3 separate regions of the Homo sapiens genome follow, and all the other regions are linked to region 3. Evidence: promoter capture Hi-C in 16 types of primary human blood cells and fetal thymus (Javierre and others, 2016). All regions are on one chromosome and are shown on one strand. Each heading gives the region's core, a stretch centred on a gene start or on the middle of the fragment in contact. The rest is flanking DNA. Distances are from core to core; before and after follow the strand shown.

Evidence for each region. Contacts are between HindIII fragments. The CHiCAGO score rates a contact against its expected background, and 5 or more counts as called.
Region 1: a contact is called between a fragment that was not itself captured here and the fragment with the promoter of NUMBL in region 3, in 4 of 17 cell types (naive CD4 T cells, non-activated CD4 T cells, naive CD8 T cells and 1 more). The highest score is 6.1, in naive CD4 T cells.
Region 2: the fragment with the promoter of CYP2B6 here is called in contact with the fragment with the promoter of NUMBL in region 3 in 5 of 17 cell types (neutrophils, naive CD8 T cells, non-activated CD4 T cells and 2 more); the score reaches 9.9 in neutrophils.

The regions. Positions count from the first base shown.
Region 1 is chr19:41,144,831-41,149,693 of GRCh38, reverse strand. All of the region lies in intron 2 of LOC124904790, which reads left to right. Among named protein-coding and RNA genes, the nearest start is that of CYP2F1, 33 kb to the right of the region's middle. The HindIII fragment of the contact is 1,408 bases long and covers 998-2,405 here.
Region 2 is chr19:40,988,567-40,993,233 of GRCh38, reverse strand. CYP2B6 (cytochrome P450 family 2 subfamily B member 6) reads right to left here and starts at 1,952. Exons shown (of 9, transcript NM_000767.5): 1 at 1,758-1,952. The coding sequence starts at 1,928. RefSeq lists cis regulatory regions at 2,187-2,210, 3,585-3,597, promoters at 1,947-3,612, 1,913-4,181 and enhancers at 3,639-3,658, 3,641-3,688. The HindIII fragment of the contact is 6,148 bases long and covers 1,699-4,667 here.
Region 3 is chr19:40,687,862-40,692,618 of GRCh38, reverse strand. It overlaps NUMBL (NUMB like endocytic adaptor protein), which reads left to right and starts at 1,968. Exons shown (of 10, transcript NM_004756.5): 1 at 1,968-2,159. The coding sequence starts at 2,136. COQ8B (coenzyme Q8B) reads left to right here. Exons shown (of 15, transcript NM_024876.4): 15 at 246-1,089. The coding sequence ends at 584. RefSeq lists silencers at 1,276-1,515, 1,836-2,175 and enhancers at 862-1,799, 3,015-3,064, 2,738-3,677. The HindIII fragment of the contact is 12,323 bases long and covers 1-4,757 here.

The DNA of each region.
Region 1 (4,863 bases), core at 452-2,951, 460 kb before region 3:
CTGCTGGAGTGCAGTGGCGCGATCTTGGCTCACTGCAAGCTCCACCTCCTGGGTTCACGCCATTCTCCAGCCTCAGCCTCCCAAGTAGCTGGGACTACAGGCGCCCACCACCACGCCTGGCTAATTTTTTTGTATTTTTAGTAGAGACGGGGTTTCACTGTGTTAACCAGGATGATCTCCATCTTCTGACCTCGTGATCCACCCACCTCGGCCTCCCAAAGTGCTGGGATTACAGGCATAAACCATAAACCACTGTGCCCGGCCTCTTTTTTTTTTTTTTTTTTTTTTTTTTTTGAGTGGGAGTCTCACTCTGCCACCCAGGCTGGAATGCAGTGGTGCAATCTCAGCTCACTGCAACCTCTGCTTCCCGGGTTCAAGTGATTCTTGTGTCTCAGCCTCCCAAGTAGCTGGGATTACAGGCACAAGCCCCCACACTCGGCTAATTTTTTGTATTTTTAGTAGAGACGGAATTTCACCATTTTGGTCAGGCTAGTCTCGAACTTCTGACCTCAGGTGATCCGCCCGCCTTGGCCTCCCAAAGTGCTGGGATTATAGGCATGAGCCACTGTGCCAGCCTGGTTTTTCTCTTTTTTTTTCTTTTTTTTTGAGACAGGGTCTTGCTCTGTCTCCCAGGCTGGAGTGCAGTGGTACCATCTCGGCTCCCCGCAACCTCTGCCTCCTGGGTTCATGTGATTCTCCTGCCTCAGCCTCCTGAGTAGCTGGGACTACAGGCGTGCGCCACCACACTTGGCTCATTTTTGTATTTGTAGTAGAGATGGGGTTTACCATGTTGGCCAGGCTGGTCTTGAACTCCTGACCTCAGGTGATCTGCCTGCCTCAGCCTCCCAAAGTGCTGGGATTACAGGTGTGAACCACTGCGCCCAGTCTGGTTTTTCTTTTTCAAGATGTTTGGCTCTTGTTGATCCTTTACATTGCCATATAAATTGTAGCCTCAGCTTGACAATTTCTATAAATAAATAAATAAATAAATAAAGCTTGCTGGTATTTCAATTTTGTCTGGGATTCATTTACTCTACAGATGAACACTATTATCTTTTATTACTATTATTATTTTTTGAGATGGAGTTTCACTCTTTGCCCAGGCTGGAGTGCAGTGGCGCTATCTCTGCTCAATGCAACCTTCATTTCCCGGGTTCAAGCTGTTCTCCTACCTCAGTCTCCCTAGGGATTATAGGTGTGTGCCACCATGCCCAGCTAATTTTTTTGTATTTTTAGTAGAGATCGGTTTCACCATGTTGCCCAGGCTGGTCTCGAACTTCTGACCTCAAGTGATCCACCCGCCTCGGGCTCCCAAAGTGCTGGGATTACAGGTGTGAGCCACTGCGCCTGGGCTGGAGCACTAATATCTTAATATTGAGTAATCTGATTCTTGAACATGGTGGATCTCGCCCCTTACTCAAGTCTTATTCTGTTTCCTTCTTTAATGTTTTGTGGTTTTCAGTGTACTGGTTTTGCACATATTTTATTAAATGTATCTCTTAGTATTTCATGATTCAGATGTGATGGGAAATTTTATATATACATATGTATATATGTGTGTGTGTGTGTGTGTATATATATATATATATATATATATATATATATTTTTTTTTTTTTTTTTTTTTTTTTTTTTTTTTTTTTTGAGATGGAGTCTCACTCTGTAGCCCAGGCTAGAGTAAAGTGGTGCGATCTTGGCTCACTGCAACCTCCGCCTCCCGGGTCCTGGTCCAAGCAATTCTCCTGCCTCAGCCTCCCGAGTAGCTGGGATTACAGGCATAAGCCATCATGCCCAGCTAATTTTTGTATTTTCAGTAGAGACAGGGTTTCACCTTGTTGGCTAGGCTGGTCTTGAACTCCTGACCTCGTGATTCACCCTCCTTGGCCTCCCAAAGTGCTGGGATTACAGGCATGAGCCACCGTGCCCGGCCGGGGAATTATATATTTTTAAATGTCAATACAAAAAGGGCATACAACAAATGAATATAGCTCAATGAATTGATACCAAGTGTACACCCAGGTTAAGAGACAGAATGTTGCCTACATGCCAGATGCCTGCTACTGTTTCTCCCATGACTATCCCCTCCCTTCTTCCAATGGAAAGGATTTTTTTTACACTTTTATAGCATTTTAGCATTTCATGATTGGTTTAGCATTTCACTTCCTAAGTATGCATAATTAAATGCCTGTTTTGGGGCACTTTGCACAAAAGGAACAAGTAATACGTATTGTTTTACGTCTGGCTCCTTTGCTCAAAATTATGTTTCTTAGATTTATCCTGTTTATTGTATATTGTTCATTCATTTTCCTTGCTTTATACTAATTCGTGTTATGAATATATGACACTTAATCTGTTCTCCTTTGCCTTCATTTTTAGGTATCACCTACATACAGTAGAATGCAAAGCTTTTAAGCACACAGCTTACTGAGACATGTCCATAATAGATATAGGCATCCAGGCATGGTGGCTCATGCTTGTAATCCCAGCACTTTGGGAGGCCGAGGCGGGTGGCTCACTTGAGGTCAGGAGTTTGAGACCAGCCTGGCCAGCATGGCAAAACCCCATCTCTACTAAAAACACAAACAATTAGCCAGGTGTGGTGTCTGGTGCCTGTAATCTGAGCTGCTCAGGAGGCTGAGGCAGGAGAATCGCTTGAAACTGGGAGGTGGAGGTTGCAGTGAGCCAAGATTATGCAATACAGTGAGACCCTGTCTTTCCAAAAAAAAAAAAAAAAAAAAGACTCTCATCTAAGATTCCAGAGGCATCAAGACAGTCAAAGGCAAGGGCTCTAGAACCAGAGAGCTGGGCTTTGATCCTGGCTCTGAACTCCTATCAGAAAAGTGACCTTGATTAAGTTATGTGATTTCTTCATGCCTCAGTTTCCCCAGTGGTAAAATGGGATAATTTTAGAGATATGTGGTGAAAACATTTATAGGTGAATTTATGCGAGGTCTGGGCTTTGCTTCAAAATAATCCCAATTTTTGGGGAGTTGGGGAAGGAGGTTGTTGGGAGCACAGATGAAACAAGATTGGCCATGAGTTGATCATTGTTGAAGCTGGGTGATGGATATACTTTTCTTTGTTTTGTTTTGAGACTGAGCCTCACTGTATCACCCAGGCTGGAGTGCAGTGGCGCGTTCTCGGTTCACTGCAACCTCTGACTCCCGGGGTCAAGCGATTCTCATGCCTCAGCCTCTCGAGTAGCTGGGATTACAGGCACGTGCCACTGCACCCAAATTATTTGTGTATTTTTAGTAGAGACGGAGTTTCATCATGTTGGCCAGGCTGGTCTCGAAATCCTGACCTCAAGTGATCTGCCTACTTTGGTCTCCCAAAGTGCTAGGATTATAGGTGTGAGCCACTGCGCCCGGCTGCATGTAGTCTTATATCTACTCTTGTGTATGTTTGATATCATCCACAAATAAAACAGTTTTTTCAAATAAAAGTAAAAAGTGAAGGACATGAATAGACGATTCTCAAAAGAAGATATACAAATGGCCAGCAAACCTATGAAAAAAATGCTCACCATCACAAATTATCAGGGAAATGCAAATGAAAAACACAATGAGATACCACTTTACTCCTGCAAGAATGATCATAATTAAAAAATCAAAACATATAGATGTTGGCCATGGATGTGGTGAAAAGGGAACTTTTACACGGCTGGCGGGAATGTAAACTAGTACAATCACTATGGAAAACACTGTGGAGATTCCTTAAAGAACTAAAAGTAGAACTATCATTTGATCTAGCAATCCCACTACTGGGTATCCACCCAAAGGAAAATAAGTCTTTGTATGAAAAAGACAGTTGCATGCACAGGTTTATAGCAGCACAATTTGCAGTTGCAAAAATATGGAACAAACCTAAATGCCCATTAACCCTCGAGTGGATAAAGAAAATGTAGTGCAGGCGCAGTGGCTCATTCAAGCCTGTAATCCCAGCACTTAGCGAGGCTGAGGTGGGTGGATCATGAGGTCAAGAGATCCAGACCATCCTGGCCAACATGGTGAAACCCTGTCTCTACTAAAAATACAAAAATTAGCTGGGTGTGGTGGCGCGTGCCTGTAGGCTGAGGGAGGAGAATCACTTGAACCTGGGAGGTGGAGGTTGCAGTGAGCTGAGATGGCGCCACTGCACTCCAGCCTGGTGACAGAGTAAGACTCCGTCTAAAAAAAAAAAAAAAGTAGTAGGTATTCACCAAGGAATACTACTCAGCCATAAAAAGGAACAAAGTAATGACATTTGCAGCAACCTGGATGGAGTTGGAGACCATTATGCTAAGTGAAGTAACTCAGAAATGGAAAACCAAATATCCTATGTTCTCACTTATAAGTGGGAGCTAAGCTATGAGGATGTAAAGGCATAAGAATGATATAGAGGACTTCGGGGACTCAGAGGGGAAGGGTGGGAGGGGGGTGAGGGATAAAAGACTACACATTGGGTATAGTGTAAACTGCTCGGGTGACGGGTGCACCAAAATCTCAGAAATCGCCACTAAAGAAATTATCCATGTAACCAAAAACCAAGTGTTTCCCCAAAAAATATTGAAATGAAAAAGAAAAAAAGGGTGAAAAGTGGAAGGGGTGCCGATTATAACTTACCTGCTTTAGCGGGTTGTTAAGGGGAGGGATTAAATAAATTAATTTAAATTAAATGGGCCGGGCGTGGTGGCTCATACCTGTAATCCCAGCACTTTGGGAGGCCAAGGCAGGTAGATCACGGGGTCAGGAGTTCAAGACCAGCCTGGCCAACATGGTGAAAATGCAAAAAATTAGTAATTTGTATTTTGTAAAAATACAAAAAATTAGCCTGGCGTGGTGGCAGGCGCCTGTAATCCCAGCTACTCGGGAGGCTGAGGCAGG
Region 2 (4,667 bases), core at 703-3,202, 300 kb before region 3:
TTTTCTACTCTTAATGTTTCTTCTAGTGGGTCTCCAGGATACTATATGTTACCAGGCCAACTACAAATGAATGTCTCTATAAATCAAGTTATTTTATAGCAAGCTCTGGTCCTTAATTACCATCATGCCCTGAACAAAATCTATGACCAATTGGACTCTAATACTATTGAACTATCTTTATTGTCTGAACTTCGAATTATTCGATTTTGATCAGTTTGGTTCATGGACACACTCAAGTTAAAAGAGACTATTAACAGCCTTTCTTCTCTCTGTGGACAGTGGACCTTATCTATACCCCCAAGTCCACATTCCTCAAAGTTTATTACAGGCCCAGTGACTTCATTTTCTTCGTATTACCCTCCTGAGAGCCATCATAACAGTCTCCCTGATGTGTTGTATTTTCTCAAGAGTCTTGGCCGGGTGCGGTGGCTCACACATGTAATCCTAGCACTTTGGGAGGCCGAGGCAGGTGGATTGCTTGAGCCCAGGAGTTTAAGACCAGTCTGGGCAACATGGCAAAACCCTGTCTCTACAAAAAATACAAAAATTAGCTGGGCGTGGTGGCATGCACCTGTAGTTCCAGCTACTTGGGGGGCTGAGGCAGGAGGATCACTTGAGCCTTGGGAGGTCAAGGCTGCAGTGAGACGTGATCATGCCACAGCACTTCAGCCTGGCTGACAGAGTGAGGCCCTGTCTCAGAAAAAAAAAGAGTCTTAAATGCTCATATGCAGCCATTCTTTGTACATCCAGTGGGCTCATTACAGTGGGAACAACAAAAACATGAAGAAAAGGTAAAGAATCACTCAACTACGTTGACATTGTCCATTGTGAATTCCATACTGAGAGCAGACAAGTCCATTATGATGGTGACAGAAGTAATGTTGATGCCCAAGGTTTTGGTCAATCTCAAAATTTTGAGGCTGACCAAAAGGGGAGAATTGTTTAATTAAATTAAATTTGACCTAAAGCTCTCTCTGTAGAGTGAACTGCAACCTAACTTGGGAGTATATTCTTTTTTTTTTTTTTTTTTTTGAGAAGGAGTCTCACTCTGTCACCCAGGATGGAGTGCAGTGGTAAGATTTTGGCTCACTGCAACCTCTGCCTCCTGGATTCAAGTGATTCTCCTTCCTCAGCCTCCTGGGTAGCTGAGATTACAGGCACGCATCACTATGCCCAGCTAATATTTGTATTTTTAGTAGAGACAAGGTTTCACCATGTTGGCCAGGCTGGTCTCGAACTCCTGACCTCAGGTGATCCACCACCTCGGCCTCCAAAAGCACTGGGATTACAGGCATGAGCCACTGCACCTGGCCCAAATGAATATATTCTTGTGACAAGTAGCCAAGTGTTGGCTAATCAGAGCAGCTGGGCTTTCAGTCCACACAGGCTGCAAACTGCTCAGATTGTGACCAAGTAAGGCAAGCTGTGATCTGTGGCCAATCAGGCTGTTTCTGTATGTCACCTCCTTTTTCTGCCTGTAAATACCACTTGACCATACTGCCGTGTGGTGTCTTTCCTGGTTTAGGGAGCTGTCCAACTCATGAGTCACTTCTTTGCTCAAATAAACTCTGCTAAATTTAATTTGATGCTTTTCTCCTAATAATACCACCCATCATGCTTCACCATGCTCCGTACTCACCAACCATGCCCGTGCCACCCCTGACTCTGGAAGTCTGCCTCATTCTGTTTGGTGAAGCTTCCCCAAGTACCAAGGCAAGAAGCAGCTCACCCTCAGACCCCATTCGTCTGTGTCTTACCCTCAGAAAGGATTTGAGTAGGCCTCTTCTATCCATCTGCAGAAGGTTTCCCAAAAGGGGCAGAGGGCGGGGCCCTGGTGGGAGGCGGTCATGGGTGTTAGGGTGGCGCTGAACCAGGAGTAGCAAGAGTCCTGTGAGGAGTGCAAGGAAGAGGAGGACGCTGAGTTCCATGGTCCTGGTCTGACTGCCCTGCACCCTGCTGCAGCCTCCAACTGGGCCTTTTATCCTGACCCTGCCTCTGCACCCTGTTATAAAATTTCATCCATTCCCCACCTCCTTTTTCATCATCATCCAGGAGCATTAGCTTAGAAAAAGTTGTTAGGGAACCCAGACTTCCTGCTTGGGCAACCCAGTGACCTGATGCCTATCCCTTTACCCACTCTGTAGATATTGGCAGGGATACAGTGGTAGAGATATCAAAGTCCAGGTGAGCAAGTGAATGTGTGGGTGTGTGGGTTTGTGGGTATATGTATGTCTATTTTTGTAAGCATAGGTGAGCTTGCACTTTTTTACTTAGCTTTGTCTGTTTGTCTGTGCTTGCATGCATTTGTCCATGCCTGCTTGCATCCCTGTATGTGCTTATATGATTTTTACATGTAAAGGGGTGTTTGAATTTATGCAAATGTACTGGCGTATATTTCTGTGGTTGAATCTGGGGGTGCTTATGTGTGTATCCTTGCATGTGTATGAGCTTCCTTGTATTTATACAGTTTTATATACGAAAGTGCATTTACATTTGTGTGTTGTGGAGGTGGTGGTAGTGCATGTTCAAAACTGAGAGGCTGGCTGGGTGCGGTGGCTCACACCTGTAATCCCAGCACGTTGGGAAGCTGAGGGGGGCAGATCAATTGAGGTCAAGAGTTCGAGACCATCCTGGCCCACATGGCAAAACCCCATCTGTACTAAAAACACAAAAATTAACCGGGCGTGATGGTGGGTACTTTTAATCCCAGCTACTCGGGAGGCTGAGGCAAGAGAATCACTTGAACCTGGGAGGTGGAGGCTGCAGTGAGCCAAGATTACACCACTGCACTCCAGCCTGGGTGACACAGCAATACTCCATCTCAAAAAAAAAAAAAAAAAAAAAAAAAGGAGAAGCTGATGAAAATAAGGAATTATTCAATTCAATCAAATTTGGCCTACTGCCTTTGTAGCATAGCAAACTGTAACCTAGCAATACATGAACCAATTGTGTGTATCTGTGTGTGCTGGTGTATTTGTGCTGGTGTGTTGGTGGATCTCCTAGCCCCTCTCTTTGGAAGCCTGCAGATGCTGAGTCTATCTCCAGTGTCCCCTCCTTCATCCGCCCTTCTGTGACAGCCACAGGTGGAAGTGGTCGGAGAAACAGAAGGAGGAGCAAGAGATGCAGAACTGGTGAGTCTCAGAGGAAGAGGTGGTCAGTTGGAAGGAGACAGAAACTGAGACCTGGCAGGTACAGCGATCAGGTCCTCTTGGTTTCTGATCACTCTAACTAGTGCTAAGGAGTTTCTTCCCTGCCTCTGACTATCTTCACGGTGCAGGAAATTTCTCTGGCTCTCTCTCTGTCTGACTTTGTGTCTCTGTTTTCCCCCTGGAGACTCTTGAGCTCCAGGTGTGTGCAAACTGAGTCCAGTTTGATTGATGTCTACTGGACTCCCATATGTCTCTATCCTCACTGTGCACCTTCACCCACACATCCTCTGACAGGGTCAGTCCATCTTTGCAAAACGTGGGTGTGAATGTGTGCGTGTCTGCCTGTCTCATCCTACGCCTGACTTTTGACCATGAGGCAACATCTTTCTTGCAATGTTAAGCAAACCCTTTGCTGGATCCAGGACCTGAACCCGAAGTTACTTTGACCCAGGAGGAGCAGACAAACAGTCCTATTTGTAAGAGGTGGAAACTGTACTTTCCTGACCCTGAAGAGGTGGCAGCATGGACTTTCCTGAACCAAGGGCCTCGGTCTTGCTGTGCTGTGTCATCTGACACTAAGATTGGGTGCTCATTGCAGCCCCAGGGTGAAGCACCGATGGGGAGGCGTGAAGTGCTTTACACACAGTAACTCAGTCTTTACACTCTTAGTGAGGTATTGTTGCCATCCCCATTTTATAGATGGAGATATTGAAGCAATGACAGTTTGCAAGTCTTACCCAAGGTCATACAGTGGGTTGGGGCTACATTGTCCAATGTGATAGTCACTTGCTGCATGTGGCCACTAATTAAGTACTTGAAATGTGGTCCAAATGCTATTTACAATAGCAAAAATAGGGAATCAACAGATGAATGGTTAAATAAAATGTGGTATATATACACCATTGAATACTATTTAGCCATAAAAAGGAATAAAATAATGTCTTTTATAGCAACATGGATACAACTGGAGGGGATTATCTTAAGTGAAACAAGCCAGGCACAGAAAGTGAATATCACATGTTCTCATTCATAAGTGGGTGCTAAACAATGTGTACACATGGACATAGAGAGTGGCATTATCAGGGGAAATTCAGCCAGATATCGGGCAAAATTCACCCCCAATATTCCACGTAGGTTCTTTTCTGTTCTCCCTAAGTGTCGGCCAGCCTGAGAAATAAAGGGACAGAGCACAAAAGAGAGAAATTTTAAAGCTGGGGGTCCGGGGGAGACATCACATGTCGGCAGGTTCCATGATGCCCCCTGAGCCGTAAAACCAGAAAGTTTTTATTAGTGATTTTCAAAAGGGGAGGGAGTGTACGAATAGGGTGTAGGTCACAGAGATCACATGCTTCACAAGGTAATAAGATATAACAAGGCAAATGGAGGCAGGGCGAGATCACAGGACCACAGGACCGGGGTGAAATTAAAATTGCAATGAAGTTTCGGGCAAGCATTGTCATTGATAACATCTTATCAGGAGACAAGGTTTGAGAGCAGACAACCGGTCTGACCAAAATT
Region 3 (4,757 bases), core at 719-3,218:
AGTAGAGGGCTACTTGTCTGTTGGAGGCTCTGCAGGGAAGTAAGGGGTGCTTACTCGGGGAATAGGCAGCTGCTTGTCTAGTCCAGGCTCTGGAAGGAGTGGAAGCTGCTCACTCTTGGGGGAGTCGGGGCTTGTGTTGATGGTGGAGACTGGAGGGAGTGGAGGCTACACGTTGTTTCTGGGTTATGCAGAGGGCTCTATGTCCACACTGGCTGCCTTTGCTCTCCCCCCACCCCCACTCCCAGGCATTCTCCGACGCCCACGTGGAGGCAGTGATGATCCTGGGGGAGCCTTTCGCCACCCAGGGCCCTTATGACTTTGGGTCGGGGGAAACGGCCCGCCGCATACAGGACCTCATCCCGGTGCTGCTGCGGCACCGGCTGTGTCCCCCACCCGAGGAGACCTATGCCCTGCACCGCAAGCTGGCAGGGGCTTTCCTGGCCTGTGCCCACCTCCGAGCCCACATCGCCTGCAGGGACCTCTTCCAGGACACCTACCACCGCTACTGGGCCAGTCGCCAGCCAGACGCAGCCACTGCCGGCAGCCTCCCCACCAAAGGGGACTCCTGGGTGGATCCCTCATGACAGCCTCCATGGGGGATTCAGTCCCCAGAGCAGGCCGTACCCTGCTGTAGTGCCTCTTATCCCTTCCCCGTCTGCCCTGGGTCAGAGGAGCCCCCTTGGGCTTCCCAGTCTTGCCTGGCTCTCCTCCTTGGCCCAGGAGCTCAGGATCCCTGGGGCTGGGGAACTCCCAACTTCGTGCCCTAGATCCTGCACCTCCCCACTCGAAAGTGGGTATCCGAAAACTAAGCCAGGGAAGCGGTTAACTTATCTTTGCCAACATTTGAGGGAGCCTTGGGCCGCTGCATGTCGTTATGCAGATCAGACTCATCAGGGGGAGCCCTCACCTCTGCCTCAAGCCTCCCGTGGAAGGCGAGATGGTCCTGGAGGCAGTCCTCACCTCTGCCTCCCTCGCTCCTCCAACAGCTGCCTTCTCCCGGGTTCCAGCCTCTCAGTGTGTTGGAGAGGTAGGGGTGCGGGGTGGGGGGGAGCTGAATCTTCAATCGGAATAAAAGCAGCCCTCCCCTTCCCCCAGCTCTTTTCTCTGCGCTAGGGTTGGGGGGAGAGGGGGAGGAGCTCGCCAGCGGCCTCCAGGTGCAGATGGCCAGCCCCCCTGCACCCCCTTGTCTGAAAGCCTCAGCCCTGCCTGTGCCATCTGTTGCCGGGAACCTCCTTCTCGCCTTCCCCACCCCCCCCCACGTGCTGACCACCTGCTCTAAGGGCTGTGGCAGCTGAGGCCTCCCACACACACAGTGCCTCTTGGCTGCGGGCTCCCTCCCCTCACTCCTGGCAACCTCGCCTTTACTAATGGGCTCTAATGTCCCTGCCAGCTGCTTTGCCAAACCCACAGGATTGGCGTAGGGGGCGGCGGGGGCGCCGTAGCGGCCAGAACCGCGCCCTGGTCCCACCCCGGCGCCCCCGTTCCCAAAGCCGAACCGATCGCGCATCAGGACGCCTTGGTCTGTTCACACCCCCTCCCCTTCCTTGCAAAAAGTGCCTCGTCACCGCTCCTGCCCGCCCCCGCCGGGCTGGGGAACCATGGGGTTAGCGGGAAGATTTGGGGGTGTGGGGCGGCAAGGCGCCTCTAGAAGCAACTCTTTCGGACGCGGAGCTGGAGGGGATCTGAGGTCAGGTGTCACGGAGGGAAAGGGAGCCCAGGCCAGGACGGACCGGGGGAAAGGACTCGGCGATGTTCATAGGCATGCTCAGCTCGGGACTGGCCAATGGGCGTGGCGGGGCGGTGGCCGCGCCGGGGAAGGCGGGATGGTGTCTGCGTGTGGGCGGGGTCTTCAGGCCAAGGGGCGGGGCGGGGCGGGACCTTTCTGCATATACGGCAGGCGGCGGGCCAATGGGCGGGGTCGGGGCGGGGAGCCGAGGCCGAGGGACGCTCCCCCGCCCCCGGAACGGAATCCTCCCGGGAGCCGAGGAGGCTCGCGCGCGTGCATCCCGCACCATCCCCCGGCCCCGGGCCCTGGCCGGCGTCAGACCGAGCTGCCGCCGCCACCACCGCAGCAGCAGCAGTCGGGGAGCCAGGCCCAGCCAGGGCCGCGGGAGGCGGGGGCGCCCGGGCCCTGGATGTCCCGCAGCGCGGCGGCCAGCGTGAGAAGGGCGGGAGAGGGGGGCTCGGGTCGGGGGCGGCGCCGCTGCTGATGTGGCGGAGGGTGGGAGGCGGCCGCGGCGCCCGGATGGAGAGAGGGTGCCAAGGCTGGAGAGGGTGGTCCCGGGTGGGGGTCCAGGAACAGGCCCAACAAGCCAAAGCCCAGGAGACCGGGGTCTTGGGCACAGACCCCTGGGCCATCTCTTGCCAAGGCCCTGGAAATAGGGATCCTGGACACAGACCCCCCACAAAACCAAGGACAGGGGTACAGAGATTCTAGGTACAACTCCTAGAACTAGATGGGGATGGAGATGGGGTCGGGGACACAGCCCCCGTATCAAACCAAGGCCTCCAGGACGCGATTCCAGACACAATCCCTACCTCTCCCTGCCTAAGGGGGTCTCAGCACAACAACTGCCTAGGTACGGTCTCGAGGATGGGGTCACTGGGTACAGCGTTCCCACCACGCCAAGGCCTAGGGGGACTCCAAGCACAGCCTGCCCCCAGGTCTCAGAGGCACCCTGGGCACAGCATCCCCCCAATCCTTGGGCGGAGTCCCAGGCACAGCCACTTCTCAAAACAAGGTCCCTGTGCCTGGGACTCCACCCCACCCCAGCCTGAATAAAATAAGGACAATTTCAGGCAACCCCCAATCCCTCCACCCCCTGGCTTGGTCATGGGTCCCAGGGCACAGGATCCCTAGGCCACCCCCTTTGTCCCCAGGGCTGCCCAGCTGTCCAAGAGTGGCCCCACCCGCAGACAATGCACCGCTTCCCCCTCCTGGACCTGGCCCTCAGGCTCCAGGATACAGGCTGGGCTGGGGGCGGCTCCCCAGGGACCGGGTGCAGCCCTGTCTGTCTGCAGTGTCTGCGGTGACGGTGACGGCGGCTTTGTGTGTGGTACCTGGGGGGAAGGGGGGAAGCAAGCGATGGGGAGGTGGCTAGGAGTGTGCCCTGTGTTTGTGTGACTGTGGCTGTGTATGTGTGTGTGTGTGTGCACGCGTACGCTGCAGCTGGTGACTGAGGAATCCTGTGTCGTGTGTGTGTGCTTGTGGTGGTGTCTATGATTGTGTCTGTGACCCTAGTATCTGTGTGACTGTGTATGTGTGTGTGACAGCTGCTCACTGTGCAGAATCCTGTACTTTTTAGTCTGTCTGTGTTTGGAGGTGTGCATGGTTGTGACTGTGGTTGTCTGTGATTGTGTCTTTTGTGACCCTGTGTTTGTATGCCTCGGTAACTATAACTGGGTATGTGACAGTATGTGTTGAGTCTGGGGGTGGGCATGCGTGTGACTGACAGGACGTGGGTGGAGTTGTGACTGTGTGTGAGTGGAGTTGTCTATGGCTCCATGTGCATGTGTGACCCTCCCAGTGACTGACAATGTTTATAGTTGTGTCTCTACCTGATTTTATATACGTGAGTGACACACACCTGTCTGTGCAACTCTGCCTGTGTGACTGCCATTGTGTCTGAAGTCACATTGTATCTGTGTGACTGGGGTTGTGTGACAGTATTGTGTATGACAGTGGTTGCGTATGCAGAACCATGTCTGAGTGTGTGACTGAGGTTGTATTAATATAAATGACTGTATCTAGCAGTGTGTGTGATAACGAGTGATTGTGTGTATTTCTAGCCTTGCATGTGTGATTTGGGTTATGTATTTGACTTGGTGTCTGAAACCCTGGCTATTTAGAGGGATTATTTGTGTGTGACTAAAGCTGTGGATGTGTCTCCGTGCTGGTGCCAGGAAATTATGTTTGTAGGGGTGTGTATATGATTATGGCTTCCATATTATTGTGTTTGACCTGCATGTCTGACCCTGGGTGACTATAGATGTCTGTGTCTATGTCATCATCTGTGAGAGTGTGGGGTCTGTAGCTGTGTGCCTGTTTTTGTCTCTGTGTGTATGTGCTGGACTACCTGTGTTAGAATGTGTGATTTGGTGATGAGATTGGCCCCTGACTGTGCACATGGCTCCGTCAGGACCTGTGTCTTCTGTGTAAACCCAGCTATAAATGCCACATCCTGGTCACTGCATTTATGTGCATACACTGGACTGTGTACTTGTGACATGGGAAACTAAAACTGTGTGCTTATGTCTCTATGTGTGAGATATGTGTGTAGGTGGGGCTTGTGACTTTGTGCACCTGTCCACACGGGGCTGTGATTCTATATGGCCACATACTTGTCTGTGTGACTTGTGTGCCTGCATGAAGAAAGGCTATATGTTTCGCTGCATTGGAGTGACATGGTACAGCTGTGTATGGACACTGGGTGACGGGATTATGACCATGATAGGTGGCTGGGTCACATGGACATTGATGCTGTGGCCATGCCTATAGGACCACCATGGCTGTGTCTTGAGGGAGGCCATCCTTGGGGACAGTTGTTTGTGGGTGGTTGCATGCTGTGGCCATCAGTACCTCTGTATGTGGTTGTGTATAGAGGACTGTCCCTATGAGTGTGGCTGTCACAATAGACTGTGTGACTGATGCTGTGACCAGATTTGAGCACCTATGACTGAGTATGTGTGACCACGTGACAGTGTGTGGCCAAAAACAGTGTGTTGGTGTGACTGGTCTGGTTGAGGCTGCATGTGGT